Regions from separate parts of the Homo sapiens genome. Here regions 2 and 3 are each linked to region 1. Evidence: promoter capture Hi-C in 16 types of primary human blood cells and fetal thymus (Javierre and others, 2016). All regions are on one chromosome and are shown on one strand. The core of a region is centred on a gene start or on the middle of the fragment in contact, and the rest is flanking DNA. Distances in the headings are between cores, read along the strand shown.

Evidence for each region. Contacts are between HindIII fragments. The CHiCAGO score rates a contact against its expected background, and 5 or more counts as called.
Region 2: a fragment that was not itself captured here is called in contact with the fragment with the promoter of UGGT1 in region 1 in 1 of 17 cell types (fetal thymus); the score reaches 6.5 in fetal thymus.
Region 3: a fragment that was not itself captured here is called in contact with the fragment with the promoter of UGGT1 in region 1 in 4 of 17 cell types (activated CD4 T cells, monocytes, fetal thymus and 1 more); the score reaches 6.5 in activated CD4 T cells.

The regions. Positions count from the first base shown.
Region 1 is chr2:128,089,923-128,092,622 of GRCh38, forward strand. It overlaps UGGT1 (UDP-glucose glycoprotein glucosyltransferase 1), which reads left to right and starts at 1,278. Exons shown (of 41, transcript NM_020120.4): 1 at 1,278-1,493. The coding sequence starts at 1,436. RefSeq lists an enhancer at 1,040-1,349. The HindIII fragment of the contact is 755 bases long and covers 1,046-1,800 here.
Region 2 is chr2:130,182,065-130,184,764 of GRCh38, forward strand. It overlaps MZT2B (mitotic spindle organizing protein 2B), which reads left to right and starts at 198. Exons shown (of 3, transcript NM_025029.5): 1 at 198-388; 2 at 563-711. The coding sequence starts at 219. RefSeq lists a silencer at 1-453 and enhancers at 1,147-1,883, 1,884-2,620. The HindIII fragment of the contact is 5,492 bases long and covers 1-2,700 here.
Region 3 is chr2:130,331,102-130,333,801 of GRCh38, forward strand. No RefSeq gene overlaps it. Among named protein-coding and RNA genes, the nearest start is that of TRE-TTC1-1, 4.7 kb to the right of the region's middle. RefSeq lists an enhancer at 1,294-1,844. The HindIII fragment of the contact is 3,328 bases long and covers 1-2,700 here.

The DNA.
Region 1 (2,700 bases), core at 28-2,527:
TGGAGAAAATGTAAAAAAAGGAAGGTTGGAATCCATCAGTGTTTTTTTGCTGTTGTTGTTGCTGTTTTTTTTTTTTTTGAGATGGAGTCTCCCTCTCTCGCCCAGGCTGGAGTGCAGTGATGCGATCTCTGCTCACTGCAAGCAACCTCCGCCTCCCGGGTTCACGCCATTCTCCTGCCTCAGCCTCCATCCTCAGCGTGAGCCACCGCGCCCGGCCTCCATCAGTGTTCCATTAGTCATCTCCTTCATCCTCCTCTCCTTCCTCCCCTTCATCATGTTGGCTCATGTTTATTTATTAAAATTATTTTGGGCCGGGCGCAGTGGGTCACGCCTGTAATCCCAGCACTTGGGAGGCCGAGGCGGGTGGATCATCTGAGGTCAGCAGTTCGAGACCAGCCTGGCCAACAGGGTGAAACCCTGTCTCTACTAAAAATACAAAAATTAGCCAGGCGCGGTGGCGCACGCCTGTAATCCCAGCTACTGGGGAGGCTGAGGTGGGAGAATCGCTTGAATGCGGGTCGGGGGGTTGGGGGGTGGGGGGCGCGGGCGGGGGCGCGGAGGTTGCAGTGAGCCGAGATCGCGCCACTGCATTCCAGCCTGGGAGACAGAGCGAGACTCCAACTCCAAAAAAATATTTTTGGCTTTTCATTCACTTTGACTTAATATACTTAAAAATATACCCTCCAAAGAGGTATTCATTTTTGGGTGGGTTAAATGCTACCTATTCCAAAACAATTTTAAACTGGTTTATATTAGTTAAAAAAAAAATACTAAAAGGACAAAGTAGTCCCTGTAGACTAAGCTGCCGCTGTCCGAATAAGAAAGCTCAAGCGGCTCATAAAATTTAAAAAGTCTTCCTTTCATCATGCCTCCTGGAAGGTAGCTATCAAAATTTTAGGGTTTAGTATAAAGTCTAAGATGCTCAGAAACATTAAGACAATTGTCCTTACTGTGCCACCGAAAGGCTAAAGGGAGTAAGCTTTTAACAAAGGTTTAAGGGAGTAAGTCCCAGAGTCCAAACTGGATTTCACCGACTGACTGTTGAAGCTTTCGGGTCTCAGCTGTTGGCCCAACGAACCTTCCCAAGACCTTGAAGACCGGCAGCCTACCCGCCACCCTGAAAGGCGGAAGTGAGGAGAGAGGCAGGACTCCCCCCTCCCCAACCCTCGGAGATGAGAGGGCGACCGCGCGACGCTCTGGGCTGCTAGGTCTCGACTCGGTATCCGGAAGTCCTCCAGCGTTCGCCTGCAGGAAGCGGAAGTAAAAGGGCGGCCGGCAGCTGGGCAATTGCTTTGCGAGGCTGGGTGTTGAGTCGAGCCGCGGGAAAGGCGCGTGTCGGCCTCTCACTGGCGCAGCCTGCACTGCCGCTGCCGCCTCGCCCCGCCCTGCCCTGGCGTTGTCTCTGGCACTGTGGCGGACTGACCACGGCCCGGGCATGGGCTGCAAGGGAGACGCGAGCGGTGCGTGTGCCGCGGGTGCGCTGCCGGTGACAGGTACCCAGGGGTGGCGTGAGGAGGCCTCGTGGACAAAGAGAGGGTTTGGGGCACAAGGCGACCCTGTGCCCCTGTCACATTGAGCTTCCGCCTCTACCGTGACTCAGTTTACCCTCTGGTGTCCTATCCCTTCCCCTATTCGCGAGCGCCCCGAGTTGCCCTCAGTGGTCTTCTTGGCAAGGTATCGCTTCCGCGGGGGTGGCGGCGGGCTCTGTTCAGCGGTCTTGAACCTTCTTTGAAGAGCTTTAGATCCTTGTGCCAAGTGCAGAAGGAAATGGGGGAGGTATCCTACCATGGATTTAGACCAAGCTTGATCCTCAGTGAGTTGAGAAGCAGCACTTTGCAGGACCCTGATTGCAGAACGACGTGCTTTTTAAAATAGATTTCAATTTTTCCTAAAATGAATTCGGGTTGATGCGTATTGGTTACTGTTTTCTTTTAACACTGTGATCTGTTGGCTGGAAATTGGATGATATGGTTTCACTTTTAGCGTGGGACCTGCCAGAATGAGATCTGCGTCCGTCGCCAATAACTTATAGATGTGAACTGTTTTTGTTCCTTGGCCAGAATCTGCAGTTGTTTTGCATTTCTTGCCAGATTTGAGAAGGAGCAATTTTGTTCGTTTGAAGTCCTGGGGTCTTTTGCCTTATTGTGCTACACTAACTGTTTTGGAAACATTCATTGATGTACTTGCCAGCCAATTTTAGTGTAAAGTGCCCTCTTTCCTTCAAGAATCTTACACTTGCAGGCGTTTGAAGACATTTTAAATAGCTATTTAACAGCACCACAAAACTTGGAATAATTGTAGCCTTTTCACTTTGCTTTTTTTTTTTTTAAGCCAGTCGAATTTAGCAACACTTGACTTGCTTTTGATAAACTTAGCTGAAGCTTATTTTAAAAAAATTCTTATTTATTTATTTATTTATTTATTTTGTAGAGATGAGGTCTTGTTACCTACCAGTCTGATCTTGAACTCCTGGCCACATGAAACTTATTAAAGGAAGTGACCATAATACTTTGTACAGTAGCATAGCACATTTATAATGCACATTGAACTTCAGGGGAATATATGAAAGTAAGAAGAAAATTTGCTTAGAACTTTCCTGCAGCTGTCTGTGAGCATTTTCTTTTTTTATCTAAGTTTCCCTGTAACAATACAAGATGATGTGATAATTTTCTTTCTTTCTTTCTTTTTTTTTTTTTTTTT
Region 2 (2,700 bases), core at 181-2,680, 2.1 Mb after region 1:
TGCCACTCCCGGCTCCTAGAGCGCCGCTCAGCACACCGTGAGCGCCCAATAACTGTTGGGCTTCAATGACGCCGCGGAGGCGGCCCCGTCCCCGCGCTCCCGCCCCTCCCGCCAGGGCAGCCCGGGAGGCCAGACGTTGACGCTGCAGGGAGAGGGTGGTGGGCGCAGCCGCTAGGGGGCGCGGCGGGGCGGAGCGCACCTTTCCGCGGGCCGCGGGGATGGCGGCGCAGGGCGTAGGGCCTGGGCCGGGGTCGGCGGCGCCCCCGGGGCTGGAGGCGGCCCGGCAGAAGCTGGCGCTGCGGCGGAAGAAGGTGCTGAGCACCGAGGAGATGGAGCTGTACGAGCTGGCGCAGGCGGCGGGCGGCGCTATCGACCCCGACGTGTTCAAGTGAGCGGGGCGGGTGGGGGCCGCATGCTAGCCAGACACCCCCCGACCTCTGCTTTCCGGGTACGCCCGGCCCGCTGGTCGGGAGGAGCCCCCGCCCCCGTCCTTGTCGGGTCTTCAGGGAGGTGGCCGCGCCGGGCGGAGAGGGCTCACCGGCCCCGCGTCTGTCCCCGCCAGGATCCTGGTGGACCTGCTGAAGCTGAACGTGGCCCCCCTCGCCGTCTTCCAGATGCTCAAGTCCATGTGTGCCGGGCAGAGGCTAGCGAGCGAGCCCCAGGACCCTGCGGCCGTGTCTCTGCCCACGTCGAGCGTGCCCGAGACCCGAGGTCAGAGCTGGGCCCGCTGTCCCTGCCCCAGTGGCGGGGGTGGCGGGCGGGGAGGGGGCAGGCGCGGCACAGCGGCGGCGTGGCCCTGAGTGGCCAGGCCTGTCTGTCGGTCTAGGCCCAGCACCTGCAGGGCCCATCCGTGGGCTCTGCTCCTGGGCTTCGCTGCCAGCCTTAGGAGGCACGTCCAGGTCAGGTGGACGCAGAGTGCGTACCCCAGGGTGGTCCAGGCTGGGTAGGGCTCCTCCGCTTAGCTCCCCTCCACCTCTTCACTCAGGCCTTCATCCTACAACGTCGGGAATCAAGACAGTTTGGGGCTGGGCGCCCTGGCTCACGCCTATAATCTTTGGGACCCCAGGGCGGGAGGATCGTTTGAGGCCATGAGTTTTAGACCACTCTGGGTGACAGGGTGAGATCCTGTCTCTAAATGTTTTTCAAAAGACAGTCTCGATCTCTGTCCTGTGGTATACAGCATCCAGGGAAGTGCCCAGGGACCAGGGCAGGCAGAGGTCTTCCTGCCTTTACCCCACCTGGGCCCAGTTCCTGCGCAGGGGCTTGGCCAGTCCTGGTCAGCTTTCCCTCTGATGACTGCAGGAAGAGAGTCAGACGCGGAACTCCCAGGGTGCAGAGGCCTGCGGGGTCTGAAGGGCCTCCTCCCTCTCCAGTGTGGTGACTGGGCTGAGGAGATTCTGGGACTGAGAGTGTCATGGTGGAGCCTCTGTCCCTGCTCATCCTCTCCGCATGTTGCTTCTGCTCCCGATGGCTCTCTCTGAAATGCAGCACAACCTCCTAGGCCAATGGAAGAAGGCCCAGAGCTGGCTCCCTGCCTGGAAGCACGAGGAGACCCGCACAGGCATCCTGAGAAGGCGTGGAGAGCAGGCTGCCTTCATGGGGGGAGTGCCAGGGCCTGGGCACCCACACCCGCTGACCCAAGAGGGCCCGGGCACCTGCGTGCTGGCCTCTTCACTGACCTTCGCTCTGTCTGCTCTCTTTGTGTCTCTCTCTGACCTCCAGAGGCCTCCTTTCTCTCTGCCAGGAACAGTAGCCCCCCTGCAAGGCCCTCCTTTTCCTCCAGCCCGCAGCCTGCGGCCTCTCCGGTTCTGCTCCACAGCCCGGCTGCCACACACTCGCCTCTCTCTCCAGGCCCCCCGGGTTCCCTCCGCCTCTCTTGCTGCCTGTTCTCTCCTTTTGCAGGTTGCGTTTATTGGCTTATCTCTGGGGGTTGGTGCTCTCCCTTGTTTCCATGGAAACTGCCTGGCCCCAGGAGGCCCAAGCAGCTTTGAGCTCCAAGGGCAGGACCATGCAGGCCATCGCTGCCCTGCCGCTTAGCCACAGGGCACGATTTCTGACTCGGTTTATTAGAGACATAGTGTGGCAGTCTCTAGACCCCACAGTCGGGCTGGCATCTGGGGACAGGACCAACACCCCCACACCCCAGAGGCGAACTGTGGTGAGTGTAAAGAGCCCCTCTCCAAGGGAAGACAGCCGGCCAGAGTGCGGTGTGCTGTGCTGGAGAGCACAGCCCCAGGCGTGACAAACACCTCGGCCTCTTAGAAGTTGTCCCTTATCTGGACAGGAAGTCTGGAGGCTGAAACAGAGACTCCCACCTTCCCAGAGTCTCCTGGGCAGTGCCACACAGATGCCATATGCTGGCCCCGTGGCCACACTCCAGCACTCAGCCCCCTTGCCCACCTCACTCCTGAGTTAGCACACTTTCCAGGTGTCAGCAGGTGTGATCAGGGGCTCAGAGCCAGGGTCCTGTGAGAGCCCAGGGGTCTTTGGTTGCACCTCCTGCGTGCACTTCCTGACAGCGCCCACCTCACTGCCACCCAGAGCTCGGACCCAAGGGAGGGTGGAGAGGGGCTGAGGGACAGGCCTGGAGTAGGGGTGTATGCACTGCAGGCTGAGATGAGCAATTGAGGGGCAAGTGTCCAGCAGGAGGGAGAAACTGGGAACAGAGTCCTTGTCACTCCAGGGGATGTTGCTGCTCAC
Region 3 (2,700 bases), core at 119-2,618, 2.2 Mb after region 1:
CTTGTAGAAAGCAGTCTTCCTGTGAAGAGACCAAACCATTCAACCAAAGTTCTATCCAACCCCCTTTGTTGTGCCATCTAACAAATACCCTAATTAAATTCTTCATTCACTAGGGACTCTGGCACTTAGCTCAGTATTCCTCTTCATTCCAAGACCTCCCTGAAAGGATCAGTAACTTCAACATCGAGATGGAACACATAACCAACATAACCAGCCTCTCCACTGAGCTACAGACCCACATATTCTACCTTGAAATCTTTAACCAAGATAGCTAAAATTCAACATGTATAAAACTAAACTCATGAAGCTGGGTACAGGGGCACACACCTGTAGTCCCAGCTACTCAGGAGGCTGAGGTGGAGGATGGTATCCTTTCAGCCTTGGAATTCAAGTCCAGCGTGGAAAGCATAGCAAGATCCTATCTCCAAAAAACAAAAACGAAAAAACTACGCACTTCCAGTCCAGTTTAGTCTCCAGTTTCTGCAGTGAAAGGCACAAACAGTTGCATGAGGCAGAAATCTGGAAAACAGCTTTAATTGCTCTTTCACCCCTCACATCCAAAACATTGCAAAGACACACTAATTCCACTACATCAGTATCTCTTGAACTCACCCACATTTCTTCATTTCTACTTTCACCAACCTAACCCAACCATCACTGCTCTGCGAGGCCAGAGTCCAGGGGTTCTCATTCCGGAATCAACTGTGTGACCTCCTTGTTGGGGGTCTCGGACAGGGCAGGAAGAAGGTGTTCCCTCCCCTTTGATTTATTTTTTATTTTTTATTTTTGTTTTTGTTTTTTTGTTTTTTTTGTTTTTGAGACGGAGTCTCGCTTTGTCTCCCAGGCTGGAGTGCAGTGGCGCAATCTTGGCTCACTGCAAGCTCCACCTCCCCGATTCAAGCGATTCTCCTGCCTCAGCCTCCCGAGTAACTGGGACTATAGGCGCCCGCCACCACGCCCAGCTAATTTTTTGTATTTTTAGTAGAGACGGGGGTTCACCATGTTGGCCAGGATGGTCTCGATCTCCTGACCTCGTGATCCACCCGCCTCGGCCTCCCAAAGTGCTGGGATTACAGGTGTGAGCCACCGCGCCCGGCCTTCATTTTTTATTAAGCACTGTGCCAGCGGTCTCCGTGGGTGTGAGCCCTTGTACTGCACGGGGTTCGAGGGACAAACTGCGACAGCATCAAGGCAGACAACACCACAGCAGTCTACAAATACTATCAAGGACTCGCGGGATGCGGTGGATCCCGGAAGAGGCTGCTGGCGCACCGACCCCGTGAGCCACCAGGCCCTGGGCCGTCCTGGCAGTGCGGTCTCCCGCCGTAAGGTGGAATGGGCCGTAGAGAGTGATTGTGTTGCCAGCCATGTGTCCGCGTTGCCTGACATGGAGCCACTCAGCCGGCTCCATGGCACCTGGAGGAGAGCCACACCCCCTCCTCACTCCTTGCCCGCTTCTGTGGAGTTTTTTGACAACCAGAAGTAGCCAATTAATTTGAGCTGCCCGAAGCACTTGATACCTTGGTTTAGGAGAAACTCTGGATGACTCAAAGTTTCACAATTTAGGAATGAGATTCACCAGACACCCGTTAGACGGCAAAACGTAGCTGTGCCCCGGACTGGTGCTGCCACCTGGTGGGGCCAGTCTGTAAGCAAGGGCGGCCTAGTGGCCGTCATTGTAGCCCACCAAACCACCCTGCTTGCTGGGCCCGCTGCTTCAATAGGTTTTATTATTATTTAGGTAACATTATTCAGATTAGGAAATGACTGATATTGAAAAGATAAGACATGAGTGACGCTGAAACATTTTACTCACAGTTCCCGAGAGAGCACGTGTTATGGGGTGGGGAGGGGTTTGATTAGCTCAGAGTGAGAGAGTCCAGTGGTTGCAAGTATGAACTTAATCGGGTGCCCAAGAAGGGAAACTGACCTCTAGCCAGGGCCTCAAAAGTGGGTCAAGGCAGCATTTTTAAAACTTTGTTATAGGAATCCACTGTTTTTGCAGTTTGTCCCTCCACGTGCTCTGTCTTGGGTTGAACAGTGTCTCCCCATCAAAAAGAAAAAAAATATCGTGTCTACCCACAACCTCAGAAGATGATTTAATTTGGGAATAGAATCTTGCAGATGTAATTAAGTTAAGGTGATTTGTACTGGATTAGAGTAGGCTCTTTTTTCTGTGTGTGTTTTTTTTTTTTTTTTTTTTTTTTTGTCTGTTTGTTTTGTTTTGTTTTGTTTGTTTGGAGATGGAGTTTCACTTTTGTTGCCCAGGCTAGAGTGCAGTAGCGCTCTCTCGGCCCACAGCAACCTCCGCCTCCTGGGTTCAAGTGATTCTTCTGCCTTAGCCTCCCAAGTAGCTGGGATTACAGGCATGCGCCACCATGCCCAGGTAATTTTGTATTTTCGGTAGAGACGGGGTTTCTCCATGTTGGTCAGGCTGGTCTCCAACTCCCAACCTCAGGTGATCCACCTGCCTCGCTCTCCCAAATTGCTGGGATTATAGGCGTGAGCCACCACACCCAGCTTAGAGTAGGTTCTATATCCAGTGACTGCTGTTCTTGCAGGAGAAGGAGAGGACACGTGGATACATATGGAGAAGAAGGCCACGTGAAGGATGGGGCCAGAGATCAGAGCGATGTAGCTACAACTCAAGGAGTGCCAGGGACAATCAGAACCACCAGAAGCTAGGACAAGCAGAGAAGC